3 separate regions of the Homo sapiens genome follow, and regions 2 and 3 are each linked to region 1. The links are contacts of gene promoters, found by promoter capture Hi-C in blood cells and fetal thymus (Javierre and others, 2016). All regions are on one chromosome and are shown on one strand. Each heading gives the region's core, a stretch centred on a gene start or on the middle of the fragment in contact. The rest is flanking DNA. Distances are from core to core; before and after follow the strand shown. Region 1 holds the start of TBCC (tubulin folding cofactor C). Region 2 holds the start of ABCC10 (ATP binding cassette subfamily C member 10). Region 3 holds the start of LRRC73 (leucine rich repeat containing 73).

What was found. Contacts are between HindIII fragments. The CHiCAGO score rates a contact against its expected background, and 5 or more counts as called.
Region 2: the fragment with the promoter of ABCC10 here is called in contact with the fragment with the promoter of TBCC in region 1 in 1 of 17 cell types (fetal thymus); the score reaches 5.4 in fetal thymus.
Region 3: a contact is called between the fragment with the promoter of LRRC73 here and the fragment with the promoter of TBCC in region 1, in 1 of 17 cell types (total B cells). The highest score is 5.2, in total B cells.

Annotation. Positions count from the first base shown.
Region 1 is chr6:42,743,154-42,747,862 of GRCh38, reverse strand. TBCC (tubulin folding cofactor C) reads left to right here and starts at 1,760. Exons shown (of 1, transcript NM_003192.3): 1 at 1,760-3,365. The coding sequence starts at 1,790. The coding sequence ends at 2,830. It also overlaps a transcript of BICRAL not described here. RefSeq lists enhancers at 268-317, 704-1,667, 1,732-1,941, 1,972-2,051, 2,112-2,271 and a silencer at 702-761. The HindIII fragment of the contact is 2,174 bases long and covers 1-1,779 here.
Region 2 is chr6:43,424,725-43,429,528 of GRCh38, reverse strand. It overlaps ABCC10 (ATP binding cassette subfamily C member 10), which reads right to left and starts at 1,988. Exons shown (of 22, transcript NM_001198934.2): 1 at 1,772-1,988; 2 at 1,390-1,561. The coding sequence starts at 1,550. LOC105375065 (a long non-coding RNA gene) reads right to left here. Exons shown (of 6, transcript XR_007059585.1): 6 at 3,515-4,804. RefSeq lists enhancers at 1,342-1,411, 3,513-4,034. The HindIII fragment of the contact is 12,589 bases long and covers 1-2,176 here.
Region 3 is chr6:43,508,477-43,512,625 of GRCh38, reverse strand. It overlaps LRRC73 (leucine rich repeat containing 73), which reads left to right and starts at 2,280. Exons shown (of 6, transcript NM_001012974.4): 1 at 2,280-3,112; 2 at 3,706-3,866. The coding sequence starts at 2,841. YIPF3 (Yip1 domain family member 3) reads left to right here. Exons shown (of 9, transcript NM_015388.4): 8 at 63-186; 9 at 311-794. The coding sequence ends at 459. RefSeq lists silencers at 2,123-2,412, 2,433-2,702. The HindIII fragment of the contact is 9,076 bases long and covers 1-4,149 here.

The DNA of each region.
Region 1 (4,709 bases), core at 511-3,010:
TGCACTCCAGCCTGGGCAACAACAGCATAACTCCGTCTCAAAAAAAAAAAAAAAAAACAAAATAAAACAAAAAAGCAAAAACAGAAGCCTCACCTAATCTGCCCATAAAACAAGACTAGTGAAAACGATGACTATGCACAAGAGTAAGCACCATTGTTTTTCGGCACCCCCTTTTCCATCGGGTGCACGCAGGCACGCGGACACACAAGCCTCTCCCCTGCCCCCGCGCCCCGCCTGCGCGGGGAATCTGCCACACGGTATGAACTGTGCTCTCAGCGGAGAAATACTCTGGCCCAGCAATTTATGTGTGTTTTGTTTGTTTTAAGTGGGAAGGAAAGGAAGAGAGTGGGGCGTGAAAATGGGAGATCAGTTTTAACTCAGATTTAATTCAATGGTTCGCGTTTCCTCCCATCTTTCTCTGCATCAAAATGCAGGTAGATCGGTGAAATTTCAAGTTTCTTGGGTCGTTAAATACCCCAATTTAAACGATGGAGGCTGGGAACTGGGGATATAAGGAGGAAACCTAGGGTTGGAAGGGCGGGCAGGGTTAAAGAGGTTCGGGAGCTCCGCAGATCTGAGCGAAGCATGCGAGGCTGCCGCGCCCGGGCAGCGGCTGCGTCTCGGGTTCTCGCCCTGCCCGCTGCCTCGGGTTTTTGCCAGTGACTGCGCCGTCTTGGCTGCCCACCCACACCTCGGGTTGGTCCCGACTTTAGGCTAGGCCATTCACTTCCGGTGACAAATCCCTCCCACCACCCCTAGAAATAATGTACCGCTTCTCCCACCGCTTTCCTAAGACCGACCGCCCCAGAGAGCCACGGAGCCCGGGGCTAGGGTCTCACCCCAGCGCGGCCGGCGACGCCCAGCTGCGGAGGGAGTGGCCGGGACCGAGCTCGGGGAGGGCAGGGAAGAAAGAGGAAGGGGGTGTGGATCTCACCTTCCCCCGCCCCCACCCCTCCGACTGCAGCAATTGGCCAAAAAAATAGTAATCCTTTTATGGACTCCCCCAGGGCCCCTCGAACCAGGTTGCAGTGAGGAACCCAGTCTCTCCCATCGCAGTGCCCCTTGCCTTCTCCTGCCCTAGTAACTGCCTGCGGGGATCCAGGAGCCCCCAGGCCGCGCCGAACTGCAGTGGATAGGGGGGAGGGGGGCGGTAAGGATGAGGGCTACGGGGAGGCAGAAATGGGTTGGGGGAAGGGGTGGTGGAAGGGAAAAGAAAAAACCGGAGGCATGCAAGCGGCTCCCCAGCCAGCTGTTCCAGCTGCTGCTTCCTCCGGCGCGGGCCAGGCGGTGCAATATTCCCCCCCGCTCCATCTTTCTCACCACTACCTGTCCCCCCAACCCACCACACGCACTCATCCCTCCCACCCACACCCCTAGTAGCGGATCTCCGGCCTGTAAGGGGGTAGTAGGGAGGAGCTGGGGGGAGGGGGAGGCCTGCGAGTTTCTAACCTTGTTCTTATAAACAAACCCACATGTGCAGCTGCCGCTGCTGCAACTCACCCCACAATCCCGGATATAAGTCCTGCCCCTTTAAGAGGAAAAAAAAGATTCCCCCGCCTGCCTCCCACCCCACCCATCCACAAGAACCTTTGTCTTCCCACCCCCATAGTCAGTCGGCCCCGCCCCATCTCCCCGCCCCCTCCGACGCAGAGGAACCAATAGGCGAAGAAAATAAGGCCGGGGATCTGACATCATCATGTTAGGCCAATCACCGGACGCGTTGGTGGGAGGCCTCACGGACAGCGCGCCCGGAGGAAGGAAGACAAGAGAGAGGAAGCTTGAAGCCAATATGGAGTCCGTCAGTTGCTCCGCTGCTGCTGTCAGGACCGGAGACATGGAGTCCCAGCGGGACCTGAGCCTGGTGCCTGAGCGGCTTCAGAGACGCGAACAAGAACGGCAGCTGGAAGTTGAAAGGCGGAAACAAAAGCGGCAGAACCAGGAGGTAGAGAAGGAGAACAGCCACTTTTTCGTCGCCACCTTTGTTCGGGAGCGAGCGGCCGTGGAAGAGCTTCTGGAGCGCGCGGAGTCGGTCGAGCGGCTGGAGGAGGCGGCCTCTCGGCTCCAGGGGCTGCAGAAACTAATCAACGACTCAGTTTTTTTCCTAGCCGCTTACGACCTGCGGCAGGGACAAGAGGCGCTGGCGCGGCTGCAGGCGGCCTTGGCCGAGCGGCGCCGGGGGCTGCAGCCCAAGAAGCGTTTCGCTTTCAAGACCCGGGGAAAGGATGCTGCTTCGTCTACCAAAGTAGACGCGGCTCCTGGCATCCCCCCGGCAGTTGAAAGCATACAGGACTCCCCGCTGCCCAAGAAGGCGGAAGGAGACCTCGGCCCCAGCTGGGTCTGCGGTTTCTCCAACCTGGAGTCCCAAGTCTTGGAGAAGAGAGCCAGCGAGTTGCACCAGCGCGACGTTCTTTTGACCGAACTGAGCAACTGCACGGTCAGACTGTATGGAAATCCCAACACCCTGCGGCTAACCAAGGCCCACAGCTGCAAGCTGCTCTGCGGTCCGGTGTCTACCTCTGTTTTCCTGGAGGACTGCAGTGACTGCGTGCTGGCAGTGGCCTGCCAACAGCTCCGCATACACAGTACGAAAGACACCCGCATCTTCCTGCAGGTGACCAGCAGGGCCATCGTGGAGGACTGCAGTGGGATCCAGTTCGCCCCTTACACCTGGAGCTACCCGGAGATCGACAAGGACTTCGAGAGCTCTGGTTTAGATAGGAGCAAAAATAACTGGAACGATGTTGACGATTTTAACTGGCTGGCCCGGGATATGGCCTCCCCAAACTGGAGTATTCTTCCTGAAGAGGAGCGAAATATCCAGTGGGACTAAGCAGTTGTCACTCTGTTCTTCACTCCTACCAAATACTTTCCACGTTGGACTTTCCCCCTTATTGGGTCTCGAAGTTTACTTATTGTCACACTGTGTATGTTTTCAGCATTTTAAGGCTAGAGATTGTAATGGGCTCCTACTTGTAATTTCCATTAAATTCGTAACAGGTATAACACTAAAGCATTTTTGCTATTTTCGTCATGCCTTTGAGACTGAGTCTTACTCCGTCCCCCAGCGTGGTGGCGCGCTGGGATTACAGGCGCGCGCCACCACGCGAACTTGTATTTTTAGTAGAGACGGGGTTTCGCCATGTTGTCCGGGCTGCTCTCGAACTCCTGACCTCAGGTGATCCACCCGCTTCAGCTTCCCAAAGTGCTGGCATTACAGGCGTGAGCCACCACGCCAGGGCTTTATTTATTTATTTTTACCACAATAGTTTGAAGCAGTAAGGGGGAAGGAGGGTGATTATATTGCTTTGTAATGGTTTGTGATACTTGAAACATCACGGTGCATAATAAAGTAGGTCTGCAGTAAATACATGGGTTTGTTTGGTGTGTGTGTGTGTGTGTGTGTTTTGTTTTTAAAGAGATGGGCTCTCCTTATGTTGCCCAGGCTGGTTTCGAACTCCTGACCTCAAGCAATTCTCCTGCCTCAGCCTCCCAAAACACTCGGATTATAGACAGTAACCAGCAGTGTCAGGGTATAGATACATATTTAATAAATTCCAGAGCTGAGCCCGGGGGCTCACGCCTGCAATCCCAGCACTTTGGGAGGCTGAGGTGGGCAGATCACTTGAGGTCAAGAGTTGGAGACCCGGTGCCAGGTGAAACCCCGTCTCTACTAAAAACACAAAAATTAGCCGGGCATGATAGTTCACACCTGTAGTCCCAGCTACTCAGGAGAACTGCTTGAACCTGGGAGACAGGTTGTCGTGAGCTGACATCACGCCACTGCACTCCAGCCTGTGTGGCAGAGTGAGACACTGTCTCAAAAACAAAAAACCATAGGTAATTCCTTTGTCCCTAGACATTCAGTTCCTTCGGAGAGCCATCACTCTTTACGTGTTTCTTTTTTTTTTTTTTTTTTGAGACAGAGTTTCGCTCTTGTTGCCCAGGCTGGAGTGCAGTGGCGTGATCTCAGCTCAGTGCAACCTCAGCGTCCCTGGTTCAAGTGACTCTCTTGCCTCAACCTCCCGAGCAGCTGGGATTACAGGAGCCCGCCACCATGCTCGGCTAATTTTTTGTATTTTTAATAGAGAATTTCACCATGTTGGCAAGACTGGTCTTGAACTCCTGACCTCGGCTGATCCACCTGCCTCAGCCTCCCAAAGTCCTGGGATTATAGGCGTGAGCCACTGTGCCCGGTCCTTTTTTTTTTTTTTTTCCTTTGTTTCTTTGAGACAGGGTCTGGGTGAAGGACCTTCTGGGCTCAAGATATCCTCCAACCTCAGCCTCCCAAGTAGCTGGGACTACAGGTGCACCCCATCACCCCCGGCTAATTTGTGTATTTTTTGTAGAGAGGGCTTCATCATGTTGCCCAGGCTGGTCTCGAACTCCTGAGCTCAAGCAATCTGTCCCCCGTGGTCTTCCAAGTGCTGGGTGGTGGTGCGTGTTTGTAATCCCAGCTACTCGGGATGCTGAGGCATGAGAATCCTTTGAACCTGGCAAGAAGAGGTAGCAGTGAGCCATTACTGTGCCATTGCATTTCCAGAGCAAGACTCTGTATAAAAAAAAAAAAAAGAAAAAAAAGAAAGGGGGTGGTGCCAGGCGCGGTGGCTCATCCCTGTAATCCCAGCACTTTGGGGGGCCAAGGCAGGTGGATCACCTGAGGTCAGGAGTTCGAGACCAGCCTGGCCAACAGGGTGAAACCTCGTCACTAC
Region 2 (4,804 bases), core at 739-3,238, 680 kb before region 1:
CCCAGGAGGTTGAGGCTGCAGTGAACTGTGATTGCACCACTGTACTTCAGCCTGGGCAACAGAGGGAGACGCTGCCTCAAAAAACAAAACAACAATAACAATCCCCCCTCCCCCCCGCCACACACACACACACACACACACACACACACACACACAAGAAAGAAAAGAAAGAAAGAAAAGAAAGAAGGAAAAGAAAAAAATATATATATTTCCTAAGATGTGGGGACCCAAGAAAGAACACTGGGCCCTTGGAGGCATAAACTGGCCCCAAGTTGGCCATCAACCAGCCTCATCACCCCTTCAAGTCTCTTTTCCTCTCTGAATCTCACTTTCCTCACCAGTATGGTGAGCAGTGAGTCTCAAGTTAAAGCCTTCTGAGGCCCTTTCCTGTCTTAGATTCTCGATCTCTCTAACCCTTCTCAGCAACACACACAAGGCTGATAAGTGAAGTGAAGCACAATTTCTATTGATCACATGATGGTCTTTCTTGCTTTCCCAGGGGGCGGATGAATCCCTTCCTTGGATAGGAGAAGCTGTGTATCCGCTTGGTCTGGGAGGAATCCTGATTTGTTTCTTACACAGAGACAAAAGTCTAGAAGGGTTTAATCACCTAGCATAGACAGCCTTCTCAGAAGAGCAGCTATTAAAAATTGGCACAGTCTTTTGGGAACTCAGTCTAATGAGAAAGCAAGAAAGACCTCTTGGATAGAGACACTTCCCCCCATCAGACTAGGAACTCCCAAAGGCAGAGACCACACCGTCCTCCTATCTTCTCGGCAGCCAGAATGAGACTAACTTTAGTCATCTCTAGCCATACAAGAACTAAATACAAAATCAAGTTGAGTTTAGCATCCACACCTTATAGCCCTTAATTGGGGAAGGCTTAATGTTTGATTTTGCTCTTCTTGTCTATCTACTGCTTCCTCTTCAGCTGAGCCTAGGTATGCTTTTCTTAATCTGGAAACACTAAGGTTTCATGGGTTGCAGTGGTGAGAAACTGAGCCTACAACTTAAACACATCATCGCTTTTGGCTAAAAACGTTGTTCCCCCAATTCTGCCTCCAATTCATGACAGCTGAGTCCGGGTAGCTGAAAATGGACAATTCTGATGATTTCTGATACTCATCGGACCTTTAAAAACATGCCAGGCGCTGCACTATATGCTTAAATTCATTATCTCATTTAAACCTCCCAACAATGAGACTCAGAGAAGGCAGGTACTTGCCCAAGAACAGCCACATTGCTGCTAAGTAGCAATGCTTAGATTTTATTCTACTTCTGCCCTACTCCAGAGACCTCGCTATTCTGGTGACACTGCCGGAAGATGTAGGCCGCGGGTGAGATCTGCAGGCACACATGGACAGATGCCTTGCGCCCGTCTCTACCCACCTCGGGGTGCCCAAGTAACAGGCACTGAGCACGGCGAGGAGCGCGTGGGGCAGGGCGCTGAGCACCAGCTGGGTGAAGCAGTGGCCTGTGGTGTCCCCCTCCCACAGCGGGAGCGGCCACGCTGCGCTGCTGCCGCACAGCTGGGCCAGAAGTCGTTCCATGGACGCCTCACCTGAAGGGAAAGTTGAGGGTGACGGCTGTGCAGGGTAACAGCCGGCTTTGCCTGCACTTCCCAGCCGGGTCTCCCTGTCTCCAGCCCCGCCCTGGAACCGGGACCGCCCGTCGCTTCCGCCCCGAAGCCAGACCCCGCCCATTCTCGCGGTACCAAGGGTAAAAACGGGAGGAGGTTTCCCCAGTGGATTTCTGGACGCTGGTCACCCACCTTGCCATCTGTTTTTCCCCTCCCGTTTCTCCGCCCCCAGGCATCCGGAACCTCAAACCTGAAGAAGCTGCTGTGCACCGGATTCCGATATCCTGAGAACTGGTGTATGCAAAAAAAAAAAAAGTACTGCCCGGCCGGGGTGCTGGGCCCGCCCCGGCTGGCACCCCACCTAGAGGTTGGAAGACCTAGCCGGCGCTATTCGCCACGCCCATATGCTGGTAGCTGCACGCATGTGCACTGCTCTCTGCTTCGGCTGGCCTTTGCACGCAGGCGCGCTGGTGCAGACGCACAGTTGCGTTTTGGTACGCTTTTGTGGCCTGACTTGCGTTAAGGATCCATCCCTCCCTTAGTGCAACGTCATTTATAACCTCTCACGTGGAGTATTCGCTCACAACTGTGTAAGCTTACTAGTTGGCACAAGCATTGCAATCTCCATTTCTTGAAGAGGTGGGGAGCCGGGCACGGTTGCGCGCCTCGGTAGTCCCTGCGCGCCCGTAGTCTCTGCGCGCCGGTAGATCCCAGGAGGATGGCCTGAGCCCAGGAGTTCGAGAACAGTCCAAGCAGCATAGCGAGACCCCAGTCTCAGATAGATAGATGGATGGATGGAAATTCAAACATACCTGCCCCACGGACAAATAATGCCATTTTGGGACACACTGTTTTCCCTTATTATTCTAGGGCTGCATGACCTTGGACAAGTTACCTAACTTTTTTGAGCCTCAACTTTTTTTTGGGGGGGGGACGGAGTCTCGCTCTGTCACCAGGCTGGAGTGCAGTGGCACAATCTCGGTTCACTGCAACCTCCGCCTCCCGGGTTAAAGCGATTCTCCTGCCTCAGCCTCCCGAGTAGCTGGGACTACAGGCGCGCGCAACCACGCCCAGCCAATTTTTTTGTTCGTATTTTTAGTAGAGACGGGGTTTCACCATGTTGGCAAGGATGGTCTCGATCTCCTGACCTCGTGATCCGTCCGCCTTGGCCTTCCGAAGAGCCGGGATTACAGGCGTGAGCCACCACCCCGGCCGAGCCTCAACTTCTTTATTTGTACAACAGGGACAATACCAATACTAAAGTACTGTTGAGAGAGTTGAATAATTAATTTAGAGTGCTTAGGGCAAGTGCTTTGCCTAGGGTAGTCCTCCAATAAATCTTTTAAGGAAGCAGTGGGAAGAACATAACCTTTATAATTATACGGACCTGGGTTTGAATGCTTTTAGCAGAGGGATGTTGGGCAGGTTACTTCTGCATCTTTATTTTATTATGTTTGTCAGGCATGGTGTTGGTATCCGCCTTTACATAGGTGTGTACAGTGCTTGAAGAAGAAAAGCTAAACAAATGACAATTATGGTTATCCCACTTAATCTCAGTAAGAAGCCCCATATCCCTCAACGTCAAGAATTAATTTTCCTATTTTTAAAAACTAAGAGATGTAGGTTTGCATTTCACAATCTTTAGTAATTAATTAACAGAGTCTTGCTACCTGGCCCAGGCTGGTCTTGAACTCCTGGCCTCAGGTGATGCGCTTGCCTTGGCCTCCCAAAGTGCTGGGATTATAGGTGTGAGCCACTGCACCTGGCCAGGCTCCACTTCTAATTCTAATTCACTTGCTGTTTCCATCACATCTGCAGTTACTTCCTCCACTGATGTCTTGAAGGTCCATCCGTGAAGGTTGGAATCAGCTTCTTCCAAACTTCTGTTAATGTTGATATACGTTGTCCTCCTCCCATGAATCCCATGAATCACAGTTTTTTATTTATTTATTTATTTATTTTTATTGATCATTCTTGGGTGTTTCTCGCAGAAGGGGATTTGGCAGGGTCATAAGACAATAGTGGAGGGAAGGTCAGCAGATAAACAAGTGAACAAAGGTCTCTGGTTTTCCTAGGCAGAGGACCCTGCGGCCTTCCGCAGTGTTTGTGTCCCTGGGTACTTGAGATTAGGGAGTGGTGATGACTCTTAACGAGCATGCTGCCATCAAGCATCTGTTTAACAAAGCACTTGCACCGCCCTTAATCCATTTAACCCTCAGCGGACACAGCACATGTTTCAGAGAGCAGGGGGTTGGGGGTAAGGTCATATATTAACAGCATTCCAAGGCAGAAGAATTTTTCTTAGTACAGAACAAAATGGAGTCTCCTATGTCTACTTCTTTCTACACAGACACAGCAACAATCTGATTTCTCTATCTTTTCCCCACATTTCCCCCTTTTCTATTCGACAAAACCACCATCGTCATCATGGCCCGTTCTCAATGAGCTGTTGGGTACACCTCCCAGATGGGGTGGCGGCCGGGCAGAGGGGCTCATCACTTCCCAGAAGGGGCGGCCGGACAGAGGCGCCCCCCACCTCCAGGACAGGGCAGCTGGCCGGGCGGAGGCGCCCCCCCCCACCTCCTGGACGGGGCAGCTAGCCGGGCGGGGGCTGCCCCCCACCTCCCGGACGGGGCAGCTGCCAGGCGGAGACGCTCCTCACTTCCCAGACAGGGCAGCTGCCGGGCGGAGGGGCTCCTCACTTCTCAGACGGGGCGGCTGCTGGGCGGAGGGGCTCCTCACTTCTCAGACGGGGCGGCCGGGCAGAGACGCTCCTCATCTCCCAGACGGGGCGGCGGGGCAGAGGCGCTCCCCACATCTCAGACGATGGGCGGCCGGGCAGAGACGCTCCTCACTTCCTAGACGGGATGGCGGCCAGGCAGAGGCTGCAATCTCGGCACTTTGGGAGGCCAAGGCAGGCGGCTGGGAGGTGGAGGTTGTAGCCAGCCGAGATCACGCCACTGCACTCCAGCCTGGGCAACATTGAGCACTGAGTGAATGAGACTCCGTCTGCATTCCCGGTACCTCGGGAGGCCGAGGCTGGCAGATAACTCACGGTTAGGAGCTGGAGACCAGCCCGGCCAACACAGCGAAACCCCGTCTCCACCAAAAAAAATATGAAAACCAGTCAGGCGTGGCGGCGCGCGCCTGCAATCCCAGGCACTCGGCAGGCTGAGGCAGGAGAATCAGGCAGGGAGGTTGCAGTGAGCCGAGATAGCGGCAGTA
Region 3 (4,149 bases), core at 1,031-3,530, 760 kb before region 1:
TGTCTTGTCCCCACTCCTCACTTTGGAGCCAGGCCCTTTGAGCTGTATTCTCATGGTCCTAGGTAGCAGTGTTGGTGTCTCGGACCGTGGGCCCCACACAGCGGCTGCTCCTCTGTGGCACCCTGGCTGCCCTACACATGCTCTTCCTGCTCTATCTGCATTTTGCCTACCACAAAGTGGTAGAGGGTAAGTGGCAGGAAGGTCTGGGTGGGGGAGAATGGGAAAGCAGCTGCCTAGAGCAAGAAGCTAGATATGATGGCTGGTGGGCTGGGCCCATCTGATCCTCGCTCACCTTCCATCTTCCTTCCAGGGATCCTGGACACACTGGAGGGCCCCAACATCCCGCCCATCCAGAGGGTCCCCAGAGACATCCCTGCCATGCTCCCTGCTGCTCGGCTTCCCACCACCGTCCTCAACGCCACAGCCAAAGCTGTTGCGGTGACCCTGCAGTCACACTGACCCCACCTGAAATTCTTGGCCAGTCCTCTTTCCCGCAGCTGCAGAGAGGAGGAAGACTATTAAAGGACAGTCCTGATGACATGTTTCGTAGATGGGGTTTGCAGCTGCCACTGAGCTGTAGCTGCGTAAGTACCTCCTTGATGCCTGTCGGCACTTCTGAAAGGCACAAGGCCAAGAACTCCTGGCCAGGACTGCAAGGCTCTGCAGCCAATGCAGAAAATGGGTCAGCTCCTTTGAGAACCCCTCCCCACCTACCCCTTCCTTCCTCTTTATCTCTCCCACATTGTCTTGCTAAATATAGACTTGGTAATTAAAATGTTGATTGAAGTCTGGAACTGCAGCGGCTGATCCAGTGGTCCTCCCTGTCATCCCGCTTCCTATATACTTTCCTACTCAGTCAACAGTGGTAATGTCATATGTTCCCTTCTTCATATCCTCACCCAGGCAAGATAAAGGTGGGACAGGCCAGACTACATAGAAGGCAGTGATTGAATATCACACCTGACCCATGAAGCGGCAGGGAGGCCTCAAGCACAAAAGCCATAAGCCTGATGGAACACTGCAGCCAGCTTGAGTCTGGGCTCAGCTGCTCTCTTGGGAAGCCAAGGAAGCAGTGACAATTGAACAAAACATCCCGACTTAAACCCCGTGTCAAAACAAGGATCTTCTGCACCTGGGCATTGTGTTGATAATTTTCCTGTGGAGCTCTTAATTGAAGCCAAATTTGGCTTTGCCTTGGTGGTACTGGGGCCAGCTCCTTTTAGTTTTTCTGTCTTTCCTCTTAAAACCAACCACCACTCCTAACATAGCACCATCCACCCCCACCACCTCTTTAATATGCTCCACTTAATAAGTTAATTCAGGTGGCTAAGAGTGGGAATAGGGCCTTTGACCTCCCTTCACTATATTGAATATTATATTTTATGTAAAATAATCATCTTAACACTAGTAAATCTGGGTCAGCAGCATCTATCCCTCCTAACAAAGGGACAAACAGAGGTGCCCTTCATTTGTCCTGCGTTACACAAGTGAGTCCCCCACCACCCTGGCCAGAGGACAAAGTTGAGACAGCACCGCCTGCACCGTGCAGTGTGGCTCAGCCGCCTTCACGTCCTCACCAGTGCTCCAGGGCCCTGGCCCTGGCACCTTCTTTGTATTGGCTGCCCCAGTCTCGCGGCACGGACACACCCTCAGATGTCAACAGTGCCCTGCGTACCTGAGAAGGTGTGGCACCAGGACCTTGCATCTATCTGAGGCTCCCCTGCCCTAGGGACCCTATGGGGTACCCTTCTCCCCAGCAGCTCAAGCTGGCTCTGCCCAGCCGTGGCCCCTGGGGCCTCCCTGATGAGGCCGCCATCTTGGCGAGGAGCAAGCGGGGAAGTCCCCATGGGCCGGGATCACCACGCACGCTGCGCCTCGAGTCACGGGGGCGGGAGCGAGGCGCGGCGCGGATGAAAGGGCCCTGGGGCCTTCCAAATAGGAGGGAACAGTGCCCTGGATTCCGGCGGGGGTATGGACCTTAGGAACGGGGAAGGATGGAAGAATGGGCAGAAGCAGCAGTAACCGTGCCCAACGCCATCTCCACGGGGCGTGCCTCCATTCCGCTCCCCGTCAGCCCTACCCACTCAGCCCTGCCGCCTGCCGCCTGCCAGTTGGCTGACCCCACTCCCAAGGGAAGAGCGGCCTATCGCTCCCAGCTCCTTGCCCCGAACCACCCAGTGTACGCGAACCTCGCGGGCCGGCGTGGCCTTGGCCGGGCAGGGGGCGGGGCGAGCGCCGGTGACGCGGCCGTTGCCATGGGAACTCGCCGCCCGCTCGCTCTCTGGAGCTGGAGCCGGAGCTGCCGCCAGCCGCCCGCCTCAGGCTCTCTCTGCCAGCCGTGCGGCCAGGCCCGCGGGGTGGTCGGGGGGAGCCGGGCGGCAGAGAAGGAGGGAGCGGGTACGGCCTCCTAGCCGAGACCGGTAAGCCGAAGCCCTTGAGCCGCTCGCTGCCGCTGCCGCCGCCGCCGCCGCGACCGCGAGGGACAAGGACAAGCGCCGAGCAGCGCCTGCCCAACCCCCGGAACGCGCACCCGCCCCAACGCCCAGACACGGACCGTGCGGGCCGCCCCCGCCCCAGCGCCGCCCCACTTCAGCCCGGCCCGCGCCCTGGACGCCTCCGCACCTCTGGCCGGCTCCGGCTCAGTCCCGGTAGCTCTTCTCCGCCCCCGCCGCAGCCTCCGCCGCAGCCGCAGCCTCCGCCACAGCCGCCGCCTCCACCCCCGGCCCCACTCCGCCCGCGACCCCTGCCGGGGCCCCGACCCCGGCCCTATCCCCGGCCCCGCCCGCGGCCCCACCAACCTCCGTTCCGGCCCCGTACCCGGAGGCCCAGCCGTGGGCACGATGCTGCCCAGCTCCATCCAGATTTCGGGGGAGCCGCTGTCCGGCGCCGAGGTGCGGGACATCTGCCGCGGCCTTCGCGACAACGCCGTGCGCCTGCTCTCACTGCGCGGCTGCCGCCTCTGCGACCGCGACTTTGGCCGCATCTGCCGGGCCCTGGCCGGGGCCACGTCCCTGGCGCAGCTCAACCTTAACCTGGGCGTCGTGTCCAGCCCCAGCCGCATCAAGCAGCTGGCTGAGGCTCTGCGGACCAACCGCTCCATCCAGTCCCTCTTGTGAGTGCGCCCCCTCGCAAGGGGGTCCCGGGCACTGCACCCTTCCATACACTCCCCTGGCACCTCCTGTTCCTCCACACTCCTTCCAGTACCATCCTACCTTCACATGCCTTATGCACATACACCGTGCCTCGGCCCATGCCTTCACAGCACCCTCCAAGCACATGCTTGGACTTTGCACGCGCGACCCTAGCCGTGTTGGGATACCCACCAGTTCCTGACATGAGGTGGGGGCCGTACCTCCCCACCTAATCATCTGCATTTACTTCACTGGGGCAGCTCCTTGGTTCCCAAGGGGGAATATCCCCGTGGGGACGAGAGCCCTGCCCACTGCAGAGTTCCGGTCCACCACCCACCCACCCCTTCTCTGCCCCTCCCTGTGCAATGTCCTGGATCCCTGCCCCAGAAAACAAACCGAATTCTCCCTCTATCTGTATTCCCTGAGAATCTAGAACTTTCCTTCTCCTTTTCCAGGCCTCTCAAGCGCTGTGACTGCCCTCCCCATACCTAGGGCTGACAGAAGTGAAAGTGCCCCTTTCCCATGTAGATAGTGCGGAGGACTGCAGTAACCCTGCTCTCTCACTCTCCTCCAGCCTGCATGGGAGCCCCCTGACAGATGCGGGGCTGGCCTTGCTGAACCCAGCCCTGGCCCTCCACCCTGCCCTCGTGGCTCTGGACCTGGGGGACTGCATGCTGGGTGATGAAGCCATCAACCTCATCTGTGGCCTCCTGCCCCCAGATGGGGCCAAATCTGGTGAGCAGGACCCTGTTGAGGGCTTGGGCTAGTGTGGCAGTGATGAAAATCGAAATGCAGAGGGAAGGGGGTGTGGCCCCAGAGCTCTGATGATGTGGGCGAGAACATCTTTCTACTCCTCTCAGGAAGGGGCAGGACGGGGGGCAGCATGGAGACTCAGGAATCCAGGCTGGGGCAGGCAGAGGAAGCATGGGCCTCCTTAATGGCTCTTGACCTCTATGGTGGGGGTAAGGTGGTGCCCAGCCACTAGGGACACCCCAGAGACACAGGGATTGTGGGGAAG